Linked DNA regions of Homo sapiens: regions 1, 2, 4, 5, 6 and 7 are each linked to region 3. Evidence: promoter capture Hi-C in 16 types of primary human blood cells and fetal thymus (Javierre and others, 2016). All regions are on one chromosome and are shown on one strand. Each heading gives the region's core, a stretch centred on a gene start or on the middle of the fragment in contact. The rest is flanking DNA. Distances are from core to core; before and after follow the strand shown.

Evidence for each region. Contacts are between HindIII fragments. The CHiCAGO score rates a contact against its expected background, and 5 or more counts as called.
Region 1: a contact is called between the fragment with the promoter of NDFIP1 here and the fragment with the promoter of ARAP3 in region 3, in 2 of 17 cell types (megakaryocytes and total CD8 T cells). The highest score is 7.5, in megakaryocytes.
Region 2: a fragment that was not itself captured here is called in contact with the fragment with the promoter of ARAP3 in region 3 in 6 of 17 cell types (endothelial precursors, M2 macrophages, naive B cells and 3 more); the score reaches 7.0 in endothelial precursors.
Region 4: a contact is called between a fragment that was not itself captured here and the fragment with the promoter of ARAP3 in region 3, in 17 of 17 cell types (endothelial precursors, activated CD4 T cells, megakaryocytes and 14 more). The highest score is 20.2, in endothelial precursors.
Region 5: a fragment that was not itself captured here is called in contact with the fragment with the promoter of ARAP3 in region 3 in 16 of 17 cell types (endothelial precursors, activated CD4 T cells, fetal thymus and 13 more); the score reaches 9.5 in endothelial precursors.
Region 6: a fragment that was not itself captured here is called in contact with the fragment with the promoter of ARAP3 in region 3 in 5 of 17 cell types (total B cells, naive B cells, total CD8 T cells and 2 more); the score reaches 7.9 in total B cells.
Region 7: a contact is called between a fragment that was not itself captured here and the fragment with the promoter of ARAP3 in region 3, in 3 of 17 cell types (fetal thymus, total CD8 T cells and megakaryocytes). The highest score is 5.9, in fetal thymus.

Annotation. Positions count from the first base shown.
Region 1 is chr5:142,107,149-142,110,598 of GRCh38, reverse strand. It overlaps NDFIP1 (Nedd4 family interacting protein 1), which reads right to left and starts at 1,820. Exons shown (of 8, transcript NM_030571.4): 1 at 1,562-1,820. The coding sequence starts at 1,624. RefSeq lists silencers at 1,391-1,460, 1,531-1,660, 1,721-1,990 and an enhancer at 1,568-2,069. The HindIII fragment of the contact is 16,858 bases long and covers 1-2,897 here.
Region 2 is chr5:141,975,994-141,979,292 of GRCh38, reverse strand. It overlaps RNF14 (ring finger protein 14), which reads right to left. Exons shown (of 9, transcript NM_004290.5): 5 at 463-990. Among named protein-coding and RNA genes, the nearest start is that of RNF14, 8.5 kb to the right of the region's middle. The HindIII fragment of the contact is 866 bases long and covers 818-1,683 here.
Region 3 is chr5:141,680,937-141,684,119 of GRCh38, reverse strand. ARAP3 (ArfGAP with RhoGAP domain, ankyrin repeat and PH domain 3) reads left to right here and starts at 1,890. Exons shown (of 33, transcript NM_022481.6): 1 at 1,890-1,947. RefSeq lists a silencer at 1,841-1,890. The HindIII fragment of the contact is 6,366 bases long and covers 1-2,491 here.
Region 4 is chr5:141,958,932-141,962,141 of GRCh38, reverse strand. It overlaps a transcript of RNF14 not described here. Among named protein-coding and RNA genes, the nearest start is that of PCDH12, 2.3 kb to the right of the region's middle. The HindIII fragment of the contact is 3,146 bases long and covers 1-2,983 here.
Region 5 is chr5:141,942,444-141,945,739 of GRCh38, reverse strand. PCDH12 (protocadherin 12) reads left to right here. Exons shown (of 4, transcript NM_016580.4): 4 at 1-2,159. The coding sequence ends at 359. Among named protein-coding and RNA genes, the nearest start is that of PCDH12, 14 kb to the left of the region's middle. The HindIII fragment of the contact is 7,155 bases long and covers 1-3,296 here.
Region 6 is chr5:142,143,028-142,146,306 of GRCh38, reverse strand. NDFIP1 (Nedd4 family interacting protein 1) reads right to left here. Exons shown (of 8, transcript NM_030571.4): 7 at 1,631-1,736. The coding sequence ends at 1,633. Among named protein-coding and RNA genes, the nearest start is that of NDFIP1, 36 kb to the right of the region's middle. RefSeq lists an enhancer at 840-929. The HindIII fragment of the contact is 2,078 bases long and covers 302-2,379 here.
Region 7 is chr5:142,126,814-142,130,212 of GRCh38, reverse strand. The region is part of intron 1 of NDFIP1 (Nedd4 family interacting protein 1); the gene reads right to left. Among named protein-coding and RNA genes, the nearest start is that of NDFIP1, 20 kb to the right of the region's middle. The HindIII fragment of the contact is 2,749 bases long and covers 667-3,399 here.

The sequences.
Region 1 (3,450 bases), core at 571-3,070, 430 kb before region 3:
ATTCTGCATAATTAAAAAATATTAAATGCCACACTAAGGAATACATGATTTTGATACTCCAGCAAATTTTTTATATTCTAGCAGTATGTCAGCATTACCTAATAGCTCAAGAAGATGGCAGTACAAAGAAAAACCACAGCTCTTTTGCTCGTTAGCCTTATCCAAGTCAGGATGAAAAGGATGAAATCAGATGACAGTATACAGTAGGGGTGATTTGCAAACACTGTGGTGACAGTTAAGTGGCATCTGTTATTCCCATTTTATTAAAGCAGTAAGGAACCCGCAGGCTGCCCAAGGTCATAGAAAAAAAGCATGTGCTAGATCCATGTGCTCTGAAGAGATCTAAGGATTAACTGCATTGCCACAATTTGGGCCGTGTTTATAAAACCAAGAAGTGAAATTCTTAACTAGTCATTTTGGGAGTCCAAGCCTGAGTGGGGACGGATTGCAACACATGGCTGATGATAGCAAAACAAACCAGTAACCGGCCGGCCGCACCAGGGTTAATCTACGTTTTCATCGTACTGGCTGGCTTTCCTTACTTCTAAAATATAAAATTGTAGATCGTCTAAGATAGGACATTTTATTTGATAAAAGGAGGATTGACATCTGTATGCACCGAAAGCATCTGAAACATGACAAACACAAGCCGTTATTTGCGGTTCCAATCAACATCAGTTTACCACCTGGCTCAATTCCCACCATTACTGTATGTTAGATTAACACTTCCAAAAACCCTGCAGAAGGTCTCTAAATTTCCTGGGGGAACTTAGCTACAGACGCGGAGTGAAACAAGCAGCTCTTTTCCCTGGGGCCTCAATGTATTAAATCAAACCCGAGAAAATGATCCAATCATTTCCTATACATTTCCTCCCCAGCTATGCCATCAAATCTCTTAAAACGTCACTTCCAAGCATTTAAAATACACCCGGCACACGCCCTGCAGACTTCATCGTAGCTCTCCCTTTTGGGGCATCACCACAGCCAAACATCGCCTCTTCCAAATCTACTGCAAACTGCGGGCTTGTCTCTTGCTTCATTTTTTACTTTTGTCTTAAAACGGAGGCGAGGGGGATGGGTTTCGACAAACTAGGCTCTGAAACCCTGAGCAATAGCATCTTGCTGTGGGGAGCTATCGGCAGCAGCAGAGATTTTAATCTTTTCTCTCCACCCAGTTTCCGTTTCATGCTTTTTTCTTTCTTTCTTTTCCAATGACATCAAACCAAAGGTGGAAAAATGAAAAACGAATGCCTCAGATCGATGCCGCCTGTGGGTCGCGGGTTCTGACTCAGGGACCCGCCCGCCCTGGGAAATGCGGGAAACGAGGCCGGGAGGAGGACTTTCCACCGCCGGAGTCCCACCTGGGGTCGCAGACGGGCAGGCCGGGCCCGTGGCAGCCTCGAATCCGAGCCCGGGGCCCGACCCGCCCCTCCAGGCCCAGCGCGGCCTGCCAAGCCCCGGCGTCGAGTTGGCCGCGGGCCGGCCAGAGAGGCCTGAGGCGGCCAGCGGGCAGGGCAGAGCCAGGGACCGGAGTTCGGGGCTGGAGTCGGGCGCCGCTTACCTGCTGGTACCGGCTGCCGCAGGCCGGCTCGACCGCCGCCAGCGCCGCCAACGCCAACGCCATGGCGCAGCCGGCAGCAGGGAAGCAGAGCGAGCGAGCGAGCTAGCTGAAGGGGCGCGGCCGCTGCGGCTTGGGAGCGCTGGGAGGCCGAGGGGGACGCGCCTTGGGTGGGTCTCGATGGCCGCCGCCGCTCCCGGGCGAGACGCTCTTCTCAGGCTGTAAGCACCGCCGCCGCCGCCGAGGCTCCGACGCGGCCCCTGGGGAAGAGGCGGGGACTACGACGACGGCGCTGCGCCGCCGCCCCACCCCCGACTCGCGCCGCCCTGCCCGGCCCGGCCCGGCCTAGCCTAGTCCTGCGCCGCCGCCCCGAGGTGCACCGGCCCTGGTGTAGTTGCTCCGACGACCTGAGCCTCCGAGGCTCAAGTGTTGTATTCGATTCCACTAAAAACGAATTACTAACAGGCCAGCCCAAAGCAAGGGCGATGCTGCTGATGAGCACCTCGTGCCAAGCACTGAGCTTCACCTACGTGCCCTCATCCAGCCTTCAGCACAACCGCCCTGACGCAGGGACCACAACCCCATTCTCGAGGTCGTTGGCAACCAGAGAGGTTGACAATCTTCACAGCAGCGACCTGATCCCTCGTGTCTGGCAGCAGAATCGTGGTTCTTATTCACTCCCTTCTTTTATCTGCCGTACTCATAAACCAGGGGTCAGCCAGCGACAGGGAGGGGGCCAAATCCGGTCTGCCACCATGACTGTGAAAAGTACATGAAATTCAAGTTTCAGTGTCCATAAATAAAGTTTTATTGGAACACAGCAGCACCCATTTGTTTGGTATGGCCTGCAAACCCTATAATACTTGCTATCTGACATTTTACAGAAAAAGTTTGCTAACCCTAAATCCTTGAGAACTGCTTGGATCTCAAATCCTACTTAGGGTGGATGATTATAATAGCATCCTCATGTTTATGCCATCCTTTAGTATTTTAACAGCCTCATCTGCGGAATCGGAAACAATATTTTCCAAAAAAGCTCCCTGACTCGGTGACATGAAGTCAAAACTTGAAGGGTTTGGCCATGCTAAAGGCTTTCCCGACCACAGGAACAGGTGCAAAGGGCGGTCCAGAGAGAGATTGTCTTGTGGAAGAACAGAAAGGAGGCTGGCATAGCTGCCATATAGGAGATACAATTATCAGTGTTTCACAGATGAGGAAGTTATGCCCAAAGAAATTAAATATCTCACCCAATGACACAGAGCTACTAAGGGGTGAAGCTGGAATACAACTCCATTAAGCCAGCTTTCTTACCCAGTATTGCACAACTAAATTATAAGCTTTGTGAAGACAAGAGTATTTGTCTTTTAAATCTTATTACCTCCCAATGCCATGTAGCACAGTATAGCTATATAGCAGGCTTGCAAGGTCTGTTTCTTTCACACCCAGCCATCTGCAATTGCTTCTACCCACATGTCCTACAGAGAAAAACAAAATCTTCCATCTCTGAAGCTTGTTGCAATTCCCATTTCTTCTTCATTGCCTTTCCAAGTTGGCAGTGTAGAGGTTATATTAATATGATTATTGTCTTAGCTTCTAATTTTGAAGTTTAGTTAATTATGTATTTTAAAAGAGAACTGTGTTTAGAACACACCCTGAGGTTTCTGTATATATGAGAAAATTGTAATCAATAAAAACTCTAGATGTTTACCATCTTCACTTTGAGTTCTCTCTCAGCATCCAAACTCCTCTATATCTGTCGCTATTTCCAAGTATTAGTCTCACATATTAACATGCTGGGAGAGCGAACAAATGTAGCAACATTCCAAGCTCTCAAGTCTATTTAGAGCCTCCTTACTCTGTCCCTCAGTTGTTGTTTATAATCCAGAAAAACA
Region 2 (3,299 bases), core at 1-2,500, 300 kb before region 3:
GGGTGACACAGCAAGACTCCATCTCAAACAAAACAACAACAACAACAACAACAACAACACCACCACCACCTAAGTAGGCTGTACTTCTGCTGAAGTCTATAAAAAAGTTGGTTAATCATTCTAAGAGACGTCCCCTTCAGATGCCAACCTCACACAAGAATAAGCTAGTGATTCCCCAAGGTTTATGGGATCCTACTAGCAGATATACAAAGTAAATTATCACAATTACTTAATAACTACTTTAACACTCATCCTTGCCCACTGCAAGGCCAAAGGAAGCATTCCATTTGCTTAAGCAGTAGACTAAGACCATAGCATTTTTAATGGATACAGCAAAACAACTTGTGGGCTGGCTCCAAGGCCTCGGACTGCCCCATGAGCCCTATCAAGGAAGTTCCTGAGATGATATCTCCATTTATGGAAGAGAATTAGGAGGCAACCATCAGCAGGGTAAACAGTTACCTGACCAGGAGTGGCCACCGAAGGGCACTTTGGTTCTGGGCAGTTGAGGCATTGAACCTGGCCATCTCTGATCTGGATTTCAAAGTAGTCCTTCAGACAGGCTTTGCAGTACACATGCCTGCACTCCAAGAAGTACATGCATTCACTACCCAGCTTCTCACAGAAACAGATACTGCACAGGAACAATTTACTATTAAAGCATTTTATCTGCTGAGCTTGATCAAAGTCCAAGATTTCCTGGATCAGATTTGACAGTGATTCCACATCCTGCACTGCTCTCTCATCCACAATTTCCTCTTGGTCTACATCAGATCCAGCAGCTCCTCCAAAATCTAGCTCTGTGTTGGGAGAAGCTTGAGCTGTCCTTCTCTGCACTTTTTTCTGAGAACCAATCTTGAGCTCAAAAGGAGAGACAATATTCAAGTATGCTAGGGTCTCTTCCTTAAGAAATTGCATCCAGGCAAACAGGACCACGCTGCCACGGTGTTCTTCCCATAGGTTGTCTAAGTGCTTGCATAGAGCAGATAGCTAGGAGAAAACACATGAAGATGTTGGTGAGTTTGGAAAGATGATGCTGCTGCCAACTCCTGGTTTCCCTAGAAATCTTTTCCACTTGCAAGTTAGGCCCTTATTCTAACACTATTTTTTACTGCTGTGATACACTGTGCTACATACAAAACAGTACAAACATTCTTACTGGAGCACTTCTTAAACTATTCGGCAACATGAGCCAGAGTAGAACATAAAGTCAGAAGCAAGAAGTACCACGAGAAGAAGAGAAATAGCAAGACTCCGTAAGGTAGAGAAATAGCTGTACATTTTAGCCACTGAAATGGAAGACTTTTTTCTGTTCTTTAATCTTTTAGTACTGCCATATACCTCATGTAGGACAAAGAGATCTAGTTCTAAAAATAAACTATTTTTCTTCCATTAGGAGTCCTAGCCCTGTTCGTATCCTAGAATAATGGTTAGAAAAAGAATAGTTTAAAAATACTATCCAAGTTTTAAAATTAATTCTTTCAGTTTTATCAAAAAGTCAACTCATCTGAAACAATCACTAACAGAATTCAACCTCAGAGTCCTTGTTCAGATTTACAAGCTGCTTTTAAGTAAGCAATCTGGGCTTATATCAGATCCTGGTTAATGGAGGGAAGCTGCCTGATATTGACCCTGGTCCTAATCACAAGCCCTCAGCAAGGTTTGGCAGCCATAGAGAAAGCTTACACTTCCTAAGCTAAGCAACCAAAATTAAATTATTTGGAATTTTCCTCTTTAAAAGTGGTCTGTTCAATTTGAAAGGCAAATGTTGGAGAATTTTCCATTAGAAATATAAAATATTTTTAACTAGAGCACAGGAATTATAAGCAGCTTTTCTTTTTTAGGTAAACATCCAAAAATATGCCTTCCAGATGGCAAACAAATTTTGTAAATTTAAATGACAAATGAAAAGGGACCAGATTTTCTGTTTCTTACACTCTGTGTAGTGCCACTGACTAAACCCTGCATAGGTACTACCTTAAATACTTATTGATGAGTTAAGATTGAACAACTAATGATTTTTCACATTTGCATAAATATCCTTATAAATCAACCATGCTTTTGAGAAATCTGCTAACATCTGTAAAATGTGATAAATACTAAAAGGGAAGCTATGAGTGCTGTGTGAGCTACCAAGTCCTATGAAGAAGCCATTCTCCAACCTCTTTTCTACCCCAGTCCCTTCTCAAGAGAGGCAGCTGGGGCTGGGCGTGGTGGCTCATGCCTGTAATCCCAGAACTCTGGGAGGCCAAGGCGGGTGGATCACCTGAGGTCAGGGGTTGGTGATCAGCCTGGCCAACATGGTGAAACCCTGTCTCTACTAAAAAATACAAAAAATTAGCCAGGTGTGGTGGCGGGCGCCTGTATTCCCAGCTACTTGGGAGGCTGAGGCAGGACAACCACTTGAACCCACTAGGCAGAGGTTGTAGTGAGCTGAGATTGTGCCCCTGTGCTCCAGCCTGGGTGACAGAGCAAGACTCCATCTCAAAAAAAAAAAAAAAAAAAAAAAAAAAAAAGAGAGAGAAAGGCAGCTGGAATGCATGTAAATGGAAGGGGGACGGGAAAGAGACTGTGTAAGTATATTGGGGGAGGAATAAGGAATAAGGTTTTAGAAAACTAAAACCACTTCCCTCTGTCTACCCGCCCCAATTCAGGGAATGACAGCTCTATGTGTCAATTTCACCATTAACAGGTGAGAGTCATAATGCCAAGGAATCAGGGTACAGCAACAAACAAGAACTGAACCAAGAAGGAATATAAGAGACCAATTAAAATGTTAATTATATGCATAAACATTTATTTGATTAAGAATTCTACTGTAATTTTAGCTGTAACACATAAAACAACTCTCTTCCCCAGCACACACCTCCGCCCCCAAATCCAGCATTAAGTAGATGCTGGTTGGCTGGAATCTGAAACCACAACCACGCATCCAGTTAATCTGTCCCTGTTTTGTGCGTGTGTGTGCATGCACGTGCATGCACGCACATGCGTGGATGTAAAGTATGAAAAGCTCTCTGGTGAAATAGGACTATGAAGATCTAAATAATTAAGCCAACTATCAGTGGCCTAAATGCCAAACAGTCTTGATATTCCTGGACAAATCAACTGTCTTGCATCTGTTGCCTCTGGCACAGACATTAGAATGTAAAGTAATACTCCTTTTTATTCTACCTGTGTTATCCTTTTTAAGGTTTAATTTTGCTTTTAAACCATAAGCTCTAGTTTGTGAAAGTACTCTCACTTAAAAGATTAGATTGGTGGATGGGGAAATGAAAACTGTATGATCCAAAGAGAAA
Region 3 (3,183 bases), core at 641-3,140:
TCCTGCTCCCTTATTTTGCTGGGTTAGTCTGAGTCCTTAAAGAAGAAGCTGCCAAGGCAGAATGCAAGGATTTGACTAGGGGAGATGCCTGTGAGAGAGGAAGGGAGCCTGGAGCTAGGAGAGCTGTGAAGGAGAGAGGGAAGGAATAAAGGTTGAGAGGAGCATCCTAAAACACCAGTCAAAGGAAAGTTCAGCAAAGCCATTGGGAAATCTTGATCCAAAGTCAGCTGTCAAAGGAGTCCCCTATCTCCCAGGAATGGGTCTGCCTTAGATCTCTGCTGAGCTCTGTCACTGGCTGGGAGCAGCCCAGTGGGAAGCTGGCCTTAGATTTCAGAGAGAAGCAGCTGGGGCCATTGGTTAATTTCACTCCTCACAGTGTAAGATCTGTGAGGAGCATTCTCACTGCCACCACAGTTGCCCATCTGAAAAAAAGGACATGGTGCAGGGGTCCTGTCCAGGGTGGTAGGTGAGCATGGTAGTTATAGATATAGACTTGGAGGGTTGGCTATTTTCTAGCTGCAGAGTCTTGAGCAAGTTATTTAATGCTCCCTGTCTCCTTATATGTAAAATAGAGGTGATAAAATTTCCTATTTGTAGGGATATTTGTGAGGATTAAAGTTTGCAAAGCAATGTTTACATAGATCCTGGAGCACGGTCAGCTCTCAATAATTGGTAGCCCTTATTATGGCTATTGCAATTATTATTTTATTACTATAATTCTCTTTCTCAAAGGGAAGGCCGGGAAAGTGGGGCTCCAGTAGGTTGAAGATGACAGTCCCTCCCCTAGCTGAGGCAGCTGGAAGAGGTGGGAACCACTTCCTCCCACTCCCCTCTTCTTCCCCTGAGGCAGGGGTCTTCCCCTAGCTACTGACAGTTCCTGTGTCTGCTGACTCACAGCCAACTTCCTCTCATACAAACAGGAAAACACAGCCGGCCAGCGCCCCCGCCACCCCCAACACATACACACACACACACACACACACACACACACACACACACACACACACACACACAAACACCCCCCCCCCACACCCAAACACTGGTCCTGCTCAGAGAGGGAAGTGCCTCCGCCCCTGGGAGACAGGCTCCAGGACCGGGGTTCCGGCAAGATTAGCGAAGGAGAGAAGGGCCATTCCTCTTCAGGCCTCCCCGGCATCCCCCCTGAAATTTTAGGGTGGGAGTTGGGGAGAAGGGGCGGCTTCTCCCATGAATGAAACAGCTGCTTGCTTGGTCACTGAGCTTGCAGGGCGTCCGCCTGTCCCAAAAAGGCAGCCCCAAACCTTGGTTTGGAAGTAGGGATGTGCCTTGCGGACCTTCATCCCTCGAAGGAACCTAGGCCGGGCCCTTGGGGATGGAAGTGGGGAGAAACAGACGGGTACCCCTCTGCTGGGCCTCTGCGCTTGTTGCCCAGGCCAAGTCTCAATTCTGGATGTCCAGCTTCCGTCCCCACACTAAACTGGTTGCCAGGGTCCAGCCACCCTTCCGGGCGTGGGAGAGGTGCCCTGGGGGATTAGGGCTCGACCTTTCCTCCTCCCTTTTGGCAGGACTGGAGGGCATGGGAGCAGCGGAGAGGATGCAAAGCCGTCCCTGGCACTCTCCCTTTCTCAGTTTCTACCTCCGTCCCAGTCTCCGTCCCGGTCTCTGCCTCTTTGTCCCTCTCCCTGAGGTTGTCTTCGTCCCAACGTGTTCTGGTCCTTTCTCGGCCTGCGAGAGGGCAGACTGGGGGCAGACTCGGAGATAAGCGCGGCGGTTGGGCAAGAAGCCCAAACCCTTTGGAGGCCTGCGCTTGCACAAGGAGTGGCCGGGGCCCCGCGGAGGGAACCGGCCGGGCGGGGCGGGGCTGGGCCCGTCGAGGGAGGGCAGAGGGGAGGCGGGGCCGGCGCGGCGGGACCCAGAACCTCGGACGAGCGGCGGGCACCCGCGAGCGGACGGCGGCCGCGTAGTGAGGTGAGGACCCCCGCGCCCCCCGGGTCCCTGCTTCCCAGACTCCTCCCCATCACCTTCTCGAGGGCCTTCGTGGGCTCCCAGGCCCCCTCGGCGCCGGCGGCCCTCCCCATCCCTGCCACGACCCGCCCCTCCCTCCTGCTGCCCGGCCTCTGCCCCATCCCTCCTCGCCCCCTCCCTCGTCGCAGCCTGCGCTGCCCGCCACTGCCCGCCCCGCCCCCGCCACTCCTGTCCCGCGAGCACCTCAGCTCCCAGCCCCGTGCTGTCGAGCCCGGCCTGAGTCACCGGGAAACCGGGCCCTGAGTCAGGGCCCGAGGCTCAGCACGCGGGCCCTGGCTTGGGAATGAGGCCCAGCTGGAGAGAGGCAGAGGGAGGCCAGCAGTGATGCTGGGACGGAGAGGGCGTCCTGGTCACCGACAGAGCACAAGAGTAACAGGGAGAGAGCCTAGGCCGAGGCGGAAGACAGAAACCCAGGCTCAGAGGCAGACAGAGACACAGATACAACTCAAGATCTGGTTAGAATTGTAGACTGAGTCAAGGACAAGCTTAATAACAGAGAGCAAAACAGGGTGGGACAAGGAGAGGGACAAAGAAGAATTGAGAGGTTGAGATGGAATGGGGCAGGGACAGTGACAAGGCAGAGATAAAACTCAGGGGCCACAGAATTAGAGACAGGTCTATGAAATAGACCAGGGTCAGGGTCGGGGTCAGGCTGGTGGAAGGGGGACAGAGCACAGAGACCTGAGCCCAAGGGAATGAGCAGGGAAAAGGCAAGCTCAGAAAAGGAAGGCTTGGAGAAAGCAGAGGTGGGGGGATGGCATTTCACACTGCCAAATCGCTACAGGGCATGTGCACACACAGGTGAACAGCATGTGAACATGCTGCCGGTGGGCAGAGAGTCCAGAAGCCTCTGGAGTACCCCTGACCAGAGGTCAGGCCTCATCTCTCTGGCATCCCCATCCTTATTCTTCAATTAGCCTCCACCCAGGGCCGGGACCCCACACATTAGGACTGGTTAGGGCTCTCCCGGCAGCCTGACCAAAGCAGGCAGGATGTGGAGGCGGCCAGGGCTGGAGGGACAGGAAGGAAGTCTGAGCAGAGACAATAGGTGGAAGGGGAGGAGGGACTGGGAACAACCAGGATTAGGACGGCAGGCCTGCATACATCGGCTCTGGAAACAAGAGGGAGGGGGCGTCTGCACCTCCTTCCTCCTATCTAGGCTGCCCCTCTCCCTACCTT
Region 4 (3,210 bases), core at 161-2,660, 280 kb before region 3:
GAACATCTACCTGAGTCTCCCAGTCAAGATTCCTGGTCTGACTAGGAATCTAACTTCAACAAGATCTTCCTGAAAAAAGACGCTGAGCTTGGACGGTCCAACCACCTCCCTACCTGGGATAAGCCGGAGGATGCTTCTTGGCTTCCCCAAAGCTGTCTTGGTGGTGATGCTGTGGCAACCACAGGGGAGATTCACGAGGAGAAAGCCTGGAAGACCAGAGCCCTGGAAGTGGGGCAGCCAGCCCAGCGGGACATTCGTAGGGGCGAGGTGTGATCTCAGCCTTCATTCAGCTGGCCTGGGAGTCCTCCAAGGGTCAGAGTCACACCTTACTAGTCTGACCCCTCAAGGTTCCTTAGGACTCCAGGTGTTTTAAGAAGATTCTCTGAACCCCCACCCTTCCCACTTCACCCCTCAGCCCTCCCTGTGGTTAAGAACCCAAGTGTGAACAACCCCAAGTTTGGTGGTTAGTGAGGCCTTCAAGCACAAACCCTAATCCTGCCCTTTTAAAAAAAATATTTTGGACTTAAGGGAGGCTGTCCTCAATTGTTTCAAACCTATTTCAGAGTACCTCCACTCCTTCAAACCTATTTTCAAAACTCAGGAAAACGTCGCCTTTCCAGACGAACTCTAGTGACAGCTCCATTCACCCCTTGGCATTTGACTGCTAAAGATCAGCTGACCCCTGCAGCCAGAAGGAGGAGAGAAAATTGCTAAATGGGGACCTCATTTCCAGAGGTGATCACCTTAAAAAAGTCTGGGGCCTTGTTTGCCAGCTTTGAAATCTCAAAGGGTAATCTTAGCTTCATGTCCCCAGTGTGAATAAAACAAACAATAAAAACCACCTATGAAATCTAAATTCAAACTTTCTTGCGACCTATGCATCATTTTTTTGCATTCACATTCCCAGTCAAAACACAGACACACACACACACACACCCAACAGATATATAACTGCATGTAAAATATATATAGATAAAACAATGTCCTCTGAAGAATATAAATGTTAACACAAGTAAAATTATCATGAATTCCATAACTCCTTCTGTGGCCTTGGTCCACGTTAGGTTTTCCATTAAGAGATACTATTGTCATCAGTGAGTAGCTTCTCCTGTTGTATTCTTCTGTGTAGCACGGGGCTGGAGCTGTGGATATTTATGAACCCCAGGCACCCACTTCCTGTTTTCGTGGCTGTCCCCGGTCCCTGCCTCTGTGCCGTTTTCTCTGCCTTTGGCCACCAGATGGCGCTCTGGAAACGAGTTTTCTGCATCAAAGCTCCCCTGCATTACTCTCAACTAGGCTCCCTCCCTCTTCTCTGTTCCCTTCCAAGCCATTTTCCAGGGTGCAGCCAAAAGGCCTTTCTGGAGGGCACATCTGTGTGATCTTGGGCAAGTTACCTAACGCTGTGTGCTCAGCATCTTCAATGTGATGGTATGGCTGTGAGTGCGTCATGAGAGGATGTAGGTAAAGCACTTAGGACAAGGCCTGGCATGTGGTCGCTGTTCTCATTATCCTGCGTAGAGCTTTTCAAAAGCACTCCACGACCTTCAGGACAAGGTCTAAATTCTTAGCCATGGGAACCCAGGCCACTGCATCATCTGAGGACCCCTGCTTATGTCCCCTGCCCAACCTTCCTCCCTACACTACTGCACTGACCCTCTTGCAGCACAGCCAGGAGCCAGCCTGCCCACTTCGGGGCCTTTGCCCATTTTGCCCCTGCCACCAGCTTTGCCTGTCTCCTGCCTATTCAACTTCCTCGGGCTCACTCCTCCAGGTCCGTCAGGATTCAGCGTGTGCCCTCCATGAGGAGCCTCCCGGACCCCCAGGCCTGATTCCAGAGCCATTCTACTGGCCTCTCGCCTTTCATTTTCCCTGCCCCCACCTGCGACTGTCAGCCCCTTGCCTTGTTCACTGTCAGGCACACAGGGGGACGATTGCGGGGCGGATAGTGAGACTGTCACGTGGGCTGCCAGCAGGGGGCAATGGGCACCCTTGTGTCCCTGAGCTCCCAGGGGCTCCTAGTAGCTTAGGCAGCACCTTGCCCACACCAAGCTGAGGGAGACCTGAGAAATGGGATTCCTGCCAAAGAGGCAAAGAAAAAAGTGAAGGGACAAATGCAAGGCCATCTTTGCCATTTGCGTATGAGGCATAAAACTTGGAAGATAATAAACAGCAAAATCATAGTCCTTATGTGCTGAGTGCTTTCTCTGAGCCAGGCCCTGTGCTGAGTCCTTACCCCACCTTGTGAGATCGATGACAGCCCTCAGAGAAGGAAACAGAGGCTAGGAGAGGTTAAGTCCCTTGTGCAGTGTCTCAGAGCTTGTGAGTGGCCTGTCTGTCTCCAGGGCCATGCTGTAGGAGGTGGCCCTGGATTCAGGCCCCTTGCTATGGTTTAATGGGTTTCAGTGAAATAGTTGGGAAACCTCAGGAGTGGGATATGGAGTTAAGGGAAAGAAAAGCCAGAGAGAAAGGGAAGGAGTGCAGGTGACTGTCCCTTAGCCACCCCAGTCCTGATGACCACAGGCCTCCATGCCAATAAGCCCTGACTAGTGCCACTTGGGTCCAAACATGGCATCTCTGGCCCCAAGGGCTTAGTAGCAAACACCCATCTAGGGAAGCTGGCGTTCATTCTCATCACCTCAAATGCTTCATGAGCCTCAGGGATCAACCTTGAAGTGGGTATAAGGCTGGGAGAATGTTGGGGGCAGCAAACTGAAGGGCACAATAAGAAGCAATAAGGCCACCTCAAAGCCCACCCAAGCAAACTGCTCATTCACCTCCTTCCTTCCTGAATTTCACCTTATGAGGAGGTGAGTGGAAGATAGGGTATCCCTTAAAACATCTAAAAGGAGAGTTGGGGGCAGCAAAGGAGATGTGCTTCACGGGACTCTTATAAACAAAACTGGGGAGAGAAGAATTGGAGGAAGGGGGAAAGACATAGATGAAAGGGAGGGGAAGGTGTGGGAGAGGGAAACGTATAAAAGCTTCCAAGAGGAGTGGGAGGCTGGGGGTTCCCCAGACAGAGACTCAGTCTGGACCAGATGCAGAGAACAATGGACTTCAAGGCTGGAGGGGGGCAGAAGGGAAGCGGGAGGAGAGCCACACGGTCAAGTTGCACAGGTTCTTGCAGCTTCTGGAATCAAGACCATGGGCACCCTCATAAGTCAGTGTGGGCAGGGACTGCCCCAGGGCCAATCCAAGATCCAGAGGTAG
Region 5 (3,296 bases), core at 645-3,144, 260 kb before region 3:
CCACCAACTACCGTGACAATGTGATCTCCCCGGATGCTGCAGCCACGGAGGAGCCAAGGACCTTCCAGACGTTCGGCAAGGCAGAGGCACCAGAGCTGAGCCCAACAGGCACGAGGCTGGCCAGCACCTTTGTCTCGGAGATGAGCTCACTGCTGGAGATGCTGCTGGAACAGCGCTCCAGCATGCCCGTGGAGGCCGCCTCCGAGGCGCTGCGGCGGCTCTCGGTCTGCGGGAGGACCCTCAGTTTAGACTTGGCCACCAGTGCAGCCTCAGGCATGAAAGTGCAAGGGGACCCAGGTGGAAAGACGGGGACTGAGGGCAAGAGCAGAGGCAGCAGCAGCAGCAGCAGGTGCCTGTGAACATACCTCAGACGCCTCTGGATCCAAGAACCAGGGGCCTGAGGATCTGTGGACAAGAGCTGGTTTCTAAAATCTTGTAACTCACTAGCTAGCGGCGGCCTGAGAACTTTAGGGTGACTGATGCTACCCCCACAGAGGAGGCAAGAGCCCCAGGACTAACAGCTGACTGACCAAAGCAGCCCCTTGTAAGCAGCTCTGAGTCTTTTGGAGGACAGGGACGGTTTGTGGCTGAGATAAGTGTTTCCTGGCAAAACATATGTGGAGCACAAAGGGTCAGTCCTCTGGCAGAACAGATGCCACGGAGTATCACAGGCAGGAAAGGGTGGCCTTCTTGGGTAGCAGGAGTCAGGGGGCTGTACCCTGGGGGTGCCAGGAAATGCTCTCTGACCTATCAATAAAGGAAAAGCAGTGATTCATTCTCCTGTTTGCACCTGTCAAGAGGGAGAAGGGAAGAGTAATAGAGTGGGGTTTATTTGTCATCCAATCCCTGGCAAGACCGTCACACTGGGCCTGGACAGGAGTGGGGCACCTTGGTACACAGTAACAGGTACACAAATAGCAGACATGTGTGCTCTTACCCCTGTTCCCCTATCACTATGTTACCAACTAATCTGCTTCTCAGCTGCAAAATTAGAGCTAAGAAAGCACAACTATTTATAAAGCATTTACATGAGCCAGGCACCAGGCTTTACAATAGGATTTAATTTGATTTTCCAACAATCCTGGGAGGGAGGTATTATTAACCCCATTTCACAGACACGGATATGGGGCTTGGAGAGGTCAAGTGGCTTTCCCAAGATCAAGCAGGGAGTAGAGCCAGAGCCAGGATTTGGACCCAGGCTGGGCCAACACCAAAACCCATGCCTTCAACCTTGACACCAGCCTGCCAACCAAAGACAGGAGAAGGGAAGGCCCTGGAGGTGAGCTGTTGGCAGCAGTGAACTTGCTCGAGCTCCCTCGGGAAACACTGTTGAAAGGAACATTTCCAAAGCCATCCAGGCCCGCACCTCTCTACATTCCCAAGCACAAGGCAAAAGGAACTTGGATCTGAACTGATGCAGACCCGTTCTTTCCCAACAAGTAGCTCTTCAAGTGCGGATGTCATCTTTCCCAACCCCATTTGCGGGTAAACCTTCCTCTGTCATTGCAGGTTCAGGCTTGTGAATCCCAGAGGACGCTGTGTGAACTGGGTCTATGAAATCGGCACTGACAGCAGCCAGCCTTCCAGGGGATGGGGGAGGGAAGAAACAGCAGATATTTTCCCAAGGTTCAGCTTTATAATTTTCTTGGAAATTTCCGAGCAGCCAATCAGCTAGCTTCTAAATAGTGTGGGTCTCTCCTGGACACTGCAGGCAAAAGTTCCTCTATCTGCTCCTCTTTTTGTCCTTTCTTGGAGCTCAGTGCTCATGTTCACTGTTCAAGAAATGGGCCAATCATACTCCCAACTAGGGATAATGTGCATCATACATACTTGGAATACAGTGTGGTATCATTATTCCATTTTACAGATGAAGAAAATGAGGCTCCCCAAAGTTATGAGTTTCAGGGGCAGAGTTTCTCCTCACCTCACTCTAGGCCAGAGTGATCTCCTTACAGAATCTGTGATTTTCAGGCTGGATCACAGAACTGTTGGGTTCTGTGGGCCAGTGAGAGAAACTGGGGGATATCAAGCAGGCAGGCAGGGTCTCCAGCCTGACCAGCCAGGTGCCTGCTACAAAGCAACACTTGATGAATAGCTGTTGAATGGATGTATGAATGAATAAATGTGTCAATAAATGCTTCAGAGGCCCCTTTTATCCATATTGGAGCTCCAGGTAGGACTTCATTAGAAAAAAAGACTCTGTGATGTAAAAGCAAAGTCTGAGAACCACAGTACTGGAGTAGACCATGGTGACCTCCCAGTTACCAGCAGATTTTCAGTGCAGAGCAGATGTTGGGAGGGTGGAGAGAAGAGAGTGGGCAGGGGGAGATGACCTGAGGAAGCTGGAGCTATAGCTGGCAACTGGATCACTAGACACATGGGACCATTGCATCATTCTAGTTCAAAAGCCCTAAATCTGTACTCCTTGGGCACCCTGAATACTAGGTAAAACTTTGTGTCTAGACACTTTTTTAGGCAGAAGATACAAAATTCTCATCAGATTCTCAAAGGAAACCTTGACCTTTAAAAGGTTACACAGCATTGCTTTAAGATACTATCTAAACATCCACAGACATGGGCAGTTGTCATAAAGAGTCTGAACTTTATCTATTTCAACTCTTCATTTTATAGCCAAGAATATAGAAAGAAACGGCAGATGACTTGCCCAAGGCCACCTGGCAGGTTTGTGGGGGAGAGCTTTCCAAATTAAGACATTTAACTGAGTGCTTGCTCAAATCAGGATTTGGATCTGGGATTTAGTATGGTGGTCTTTTTAATACATCAAGGATTCTTAATCTGACGTCTTTGGTTAGACTTCAGGATCTATGAACCTACTGAACTACATGCAAAATTGGGAGGATATGCATTTTTTCTATGGAAAGAAGTAGGTGCTTAGATCAGATTCTCAAAGAGATTTCGGGCCCAATTAAGATTAGAAAGCACTACAATCCTCTAGGTCAGCCCTCAGCCCTGCCTTCCCTGCAGAACCTGGAGAACTCCTGCGTAGAGCTGCTCCTGTTCTGAACTTTGATCAGAATGGGGGTGTATGTACGTGAGGGACAGTGTTCTCTCCTGCACCATGTGTCCCCTCCTGATGAGCTGATACCAGCACCTTTCCCAATAACAGCTCAGAGTGAGACCGTGTCTATGGTAACAGAACTGGGTGTGTTGAACAGGAAGGTTACAGAAATTTCTTGACATCAGCCAAGATGTCAAAGCTGAGACTTTGGACACGCTCAAAACAGTTTCCACCAAGATGGGCTCTGTCCCCTGGGAGACTGAGGGAGCAGGCGAGC
Region 6 (3,279 bases), core at 91-2,590, 460 kb before region 3:
CTGTGTCCAGACTGTGTGACTGAATTCAAATTCATGACATGCTACACATTTTCAGACATGCAATCAAAGATTCCTGTTTTTTAATAATGAATACTAGTTTTTTTAATAATGAAACTAACTTTAAAAGCAGTTTAAGCCTTCTTTACCTACATACATTTAATTATCCATGTAAAATGCTTAATATATTATCTGACACATGGAAAACTCCATGAGTGTTAATTTTAGTTTACTATACTATGCTTGAAAAAATGTTTGTTATATTCAAGAGGGTCTCATTATATGATTCTGTTGCCTAAAAGCTTTCAATGCTGTTCTATCACCTGGAAAATCAACTATGGTAGATGCTTTATTTTCTTGAAGCATACCTCCTGAGACCACCACAAGTCTTCAAAATTGAGAACCTCACGATTAGTATATGATTGCCTATATAAACTGACACTCTGCGAGTACAGAACAAATTCGTGCTCCACGTGGGCTTAGTCTTGCATTGACCCAACATGTCGCTGGCTCTATCAATTTCATGGTTCTACTGCAAATGGGCTTGGTGCTCAAGGTATCTGAGAAACTTGTTTCAACCTGACTTTTTAGCCTTGACCCTCAATACTCCTTTATGCCCCAATCAAGCTGCTATCCTCTGAACAAGCCCCATACTTCCCTATTTTTGCTCTTCACTCTGCCTCAGATGATTCTGAAATTCTTCCCCACACTCTCCACTATCATGTAAAGTTTATCTGAACTACACCACCTATCCTTTATAATGCTTTGCCTAAGACCTTCAACTGGACTGGCCTCTAGGTGGTGCTCAAGGTTCCACTCTATGATTAACACAGTCCCCAAAGCCCCAAGGAACAAACAGCCAAGTCCAAGAAAGCCTATTAGAACTTGCTACCACAGAGAGCTCTCTCTGGTGTACTCTTTCTCAAGATTCTCTACCTCTTCCTTCAGGCAGCCATTGATGTAAGATGGAGTGTCAGCCTCTGGGGAAAATCATGTGTGAATCAAAGAGCCTTGGCAGGGCTTAGTCCTCCTGTTCTAGGCAAGGGAAAAGGTCCTTTCTCCTCTTTTCTTGAGTTTGACCTTCCTCACATTAGAGTGGTATCAGAATGTCAACCTGAAGAAAGCCATGGGGAAAGCCTCAATGACAATTTTAAAAGATGGAAGACTTGGTGGGCTTGTCAGCAGCCCAGACAAAAGGAGTTCTTAAAGTACTACACAGTCTCTCCAGGTTCTGGGATTTAGGGGCAGAGATGAGTGATTAGGCCTGAAGGGTTCCTTCTGAATGTCATCCTCTGGAACTGGTGCAACAGTAAGCAGTGGCTTCAGGATGCTGGAATTCAGTCAAGCAGCCAAATATCCCAGCTTTCTGATGACTGCTAAGACCCCTGCCTCTTTCACACTGTCAAAGCATGAAGTAATGATTTCTCCTATGGCAGTTTTTCTAATTTGACTTTATCAATAGCTTTTTGTAAAAATCCCTGTTACTAGACAAGAAACTGCTAAAAGGCAGGGACTGTGCCTTCTTTACTTTCTCTATATGCCCCTATCACAGATACTTACTCTAAAACTGAACAGAAATCTACAATGTAGCACATGGTTACACTGGGACTAGAATAAATTTTTTCTTTAATACCTTTAATAAATAAAGAGAACTCTGGTCCTGGGGAGATTTGAGAAAGTTTCTGGCATCTTCCGAACTTTTGCATAATTGATAAATCCTCTGAGAAACAGGAGAAAGCCTAATTTAAAAAAGAAAAGTCATGAATGAATTTATAATTTCCATGTTAAGTCCCCTCCCCAGAAATCCCTCTCCTGATAGCGATACATTGTTATTTTTCTGCTAAAGGTAATCAAAACATTAGCAATTTCCTCCAGAATCTGCAGAGGATTTTCATACCAAATTATCCATCCTTCAATGAGAAGGTATAATGTAAGAGTCAATAGTGTCTTTTGCACATTCAGAATTGAATTGGTCTAAAAAGGAAATAAAAAATAAGATGGAGCCAAACATTTACATATGAAAGCCTCATTGAGAAACATCAAAATCTACCTATTGAGTTCCAAAAAAGCATTCCAAGATAATGAACTCCAAACAACAACAACAACAACAACAACAAAAAGAGGTTATAACTGTGTTTTTCTCAAGTAAAAAGAAAAAATGTAACCTTCCTTGTCATGGGCTGTTTTTTCTGTCGACAGTATATAATGTTGTCCACTAGATGTCAGGATCCCCTTATCTATTACAGCAATTCTCATCGTCTCAACTTGAAACTTTGTCTACTATTATTATTATTATTATTATTATTATTATTATTAACAGACAGGGTCTTGCTCTGTTGCCCAGGCTGGAGTGCAGCGGTATGATCACAGCCTCTGCAAGCTTGAATTCCTGGGCCCAGATGATCCTCCTGCCTCTGCTTCCCAAGTAGCTAAGATAACAGGTTCATGCCCAGCTAATTTTTTAATTTTCTGTAGAGATAGGGGTCTCGCTATGTTGCTCAGGCTGGCCTTCAACTCCTAGGCTCAAGTGATTCTCCTGTCTCAGCCTCCCAAAGAGTTGGGATTATAGGTGTCAACCACTGTACCCAGCCTATTTCTCTATTCTTAGTAAGACTCTTTTTGTGTGACTACACCAGAATCTATACATTCACAAAAGTTTGTACCTCCTAAAACTGTCAGCAGAGAGGTGATATGCCCCTCCAGTGGAAACTCAGATACTCCTCCTGGCCTTCCTCTTTCAGAGATGGTCTCTGAGCCTTTAGCACATTTTTTTTTTTAAATACTTTTACTGGGATACTCAGTGGTAGAAAATGGTACTTGGACAGTTGAACTGATTTTTAGCAGTAACCAAGAGCTGTCAGCTCTGAGCTTGGGGAACATCATTCTGTTTGGGACCCAAAGCAACAAGTGACTATTGAGCAGGGGTTACCCCTTCAAATACTAAGTTGGGGTATGGTGGTGGGATCTTACTGAACTGGAAGGCACATGACCTGTATGGAGGAGACAGCAACAACTCAGCTCCAGCCAAAGGGTGCCATGTGAAATGTAGGCTAGCTTTTCTTGATATTCCAACTTTCAAGAAAAGTAAAAACATTCAGGCGTTTTATGTGAAATAATTTTGATTTTTAAAATGTTGGCAACTAATTTAAAAAAACTTGAAAAATAACTGTGGAACAAATAAACTATAGGCTAACTATAGCTCAAGAGCAGCCAGCTTGGGAGCTCTGCACAGAGCTCTGCAAGACAAAACACCATTAAACTGGTTCTCTTCAAAAGGGAAGT
Region 7 (3,399 bases), core at 792-3,291, 450 kb before region 3:
GACAATGAACTATATTAATTTAAAACATGAGTTGGCTGGGACTAGGAGCCAATCTGAAAATTAATAACAGAATATTTAGTGATATAACTGACGTAGGGGTCTGGTCCTGGCTTCGGTATCATCAGGATATACAGAGCCAACTGACATACTTGTAAAATACATACCACCTCTAAACCATACCGCTACAAAGAACTCTATCTTGAATTGAGACAGAAAAACAGAGAGACCGAGGTGTACTAATGTGAAGTAGAGCTCCATAATCCATTAAATTTTCTTTCTTTCTTTTTTTTTTTTTTTTTTTGAGATGTAGTTTCGCTTTTGTTGCCCAGGCTGGAGAGCAATGGTGGGATCTCGGCTCACTGAAACCTCCACCTCCCAGGTTCAAGCAATTCTGTTGCCTCAGACTCCAAGTAGCTGGGACTACAGGCGTATGCCACCAGACCTGGCTAATTTTTGTATTTTTAGTAGACGTGGGCCAGGCTCGTCTCAAACTCCCGACCTCAGGTGATATGCCTGCCTTAGCCTCCCAAAGTGCTGGAATTACAGGCGTGAGCCATTGTGCCCGGCCACAATCCATTAAATTTTAACTGATCATCTCAATCTCCACTCACTATGCTGTTCAAAACCAGATGTCAATAAATTTTTCTGACTAATACTACAAAAGCTTCAATTTCAAATGAATTCTTGTGTCAAATTCTCATCAGCATCTACCATCTGGGTACATTTTTTCGAATCCTAGTAATCTAATGTTAAACTTAAGGTACTCCCAAAATAGCTGTATTATAACCTAAGATAATTTTTCCTTTTAAACAAAGACATGTGGCCAAAATAGGTGCAGTAAAGCCAAATGCTCCTGGGACACCGAACTAGGAATTACTTAAATAGAGTTCTTGGGACCATGGTTCACCTAAAATACTGGTTTTAACATTATTTGAAGCTCTTGGCAAGGTATTCTTAGCCTCCTCACACCTAACCACTCTTGTGCTGTGGGAAGGTCACCAAAAGAAGCAGAAGAGTCAGCAGCAAGAACAAAGGCAAATACAGACTTTTCGAATATGTTCCCTTAATATACTGTAGCCAGTAATGAACTTCATTTAAACCTAGCTTGGTTTATACTTAACCCGTTTTATATTTCCTGAGCTTGGTGTCAAAGTAATCACGTTACCCCTGCATAATTTAGGTCTCAGAAAGGAAGCATGACAATTCTAAGAAATACAGAAATCCAAAGAACAAAGAGGTTAAGAGGTCTTCTATGACAATATTTATAAGATAGGCTGCCTGTCTCCTGGAAACTTGGAAATGTTAAATTTGATCATCCCCCACCATAGTAAAAGATGACAGTGCAAATAAATTCCAGCCTTCTTAGAACCACCAATTTTCACTTTGGTAAGGAAAAAAACACTTCCAGGTGAAGAGTTTGCTCCACTAAAATTCACTACTTTAGAATAGTGTACTTTTTTCAATTGAAAAATAAAAACAATTTAAAACACCATTATGACTATGGTATAATCCCAAGACCTCACTGTACAGGCTTCTCACTCTGGCTTATTTCTATAATGCTGGTGATAAGATTAGGCTCCATCAAGAAAGCTGTTTAAAACAAAACACTGCAATGTAGGGGGATCGCGGGGAGAGGCAATCACCTTCAAAAAGAGTAAGCACTTAGTGCCTGCCATCTGCATGCATAATAACTTGCTGAACAATGGAATCCTTAAATATACATCTTTTTACACTTCAGGGGCAACAAGTCAGGCATTCACTAACAAGTGGAGGAACCATGTGCGCTAGAACTAGAGTGTGCTATAAAATTGATTACTTGGTTCCAAAATTTATTTTTAAGATTCCCCTTTTCCACCCCTGGGAACCCTTCTGTGCAGCCTCCCTGCCATGTCCCTGGAGCTCAGGGATCTTCGGGCTCTTTCCTGACACTTTCTGAAAGAATACGCGGCATTGTCACGTTTGGGTTAGAGTTGGAAAGATGCTCAGTCTCTTCCATCAACTGGGTCAGTGGAAGCCCGAGTCCAATTTAACTGTCACAGAATCTGGGTTGTAGGGGATACTCAGAGAGACAGATCTGAAAACTGGGACAGATCTGGGAACTTCTGCTCTCAGTGCACAGAGATGTTGGGCAAGGGTAGGGGGGATATCCTTTGAGTGACTGTGATAGATAATAAATAGCTGTTGGACACTGGATTTTTTTTCCTGTCATATAATTTCTGACCAATTTTACTAAACTTCAAATATGATTTATTTTTTTGAGACAGAATCTCACTCTGTCACCCAGGCTGGAGTGCAGTGGTACCATCTTGGCTCACTGCAACCTCTGCCTCCTGGGTTCAAGTGATTCTTCCGCCTCAGCCTCCCAAGTAGTTGGGATTACAGGCATGCACCACCATACCTGGCTAATTTTTGTATTTTTAGTAGAGATGGGGTTGTGCCATGTTGGCCAGGTTGGTACCAAACTCCTGACCTCAAGTGATCCGCCTGCCTCAGCCTCCCAAAGCGCTGGGATTATAGGCGTGAGCCACCATACCCGGCTGAAATATGATTTAAATGGCATTTTTTCCAAATACAGCTATACAATTACCTACACAGGCCATACAAAGTAGAGTTTAATACAGAACTACCTATAACTACCTATGCCTCCATCGCTAAGAAATAAATAATCCAATCACCTGAGAATTCAGATGACCTTTCACTTTCTCACACCCAGAGTGTGCCATTACTCTTTTCCTGATTACCTTTGCTCCCTTCTATGTGCTGAGCAGACTAGAATGGCTCCCCAGAAGAACCCTAAAACTCTTCCTACTTCAGATATGTCACAATCTGCCATGGTGCCTTTGGCCTTGATGACCTTCAATTTTAAGAAAACATTTATTTACAAATAGGTGCTACTAAGGTTTTGTTCTCAAGTCACACCTGTAATCCCAGCACTTTGGGAGGCTGAGGTGGGCGGATCACTTGAGGTCAGGAGTTTGAGACCAGCCTGGCCAACATGGTAAAATCTCGTCTCTACTAAAAATACAAAAATCAACCAGGTGTGGTGGCATGCACCTGTAGTCCCAACTACTCGGGAGGCTTAGGCACGAGAATCACTTGATCCGGGGAGGTGGAGGTTACAGTAAGCTGAGATCAAGCCACTGCACTTCAGCCTGGGCGACAAAGTGAGATTCTGTCTCAAAAATAAATAAATAAATAAAATAAAATAGAGCGTTTTTTTTTCCCTCCTTATCACCTTCCTCTGTATCTAGGTCCTATTGTTATTAAAAATAAATATGACATTTTTATGAATCTCCAACACAGAAATCATATATAGTTCTAATTCTAATAGAAACAAACTTGAATTTAACACGTTTAAGACATTATACCCTACAGATTTAAACTATTATTTGAGTTCCC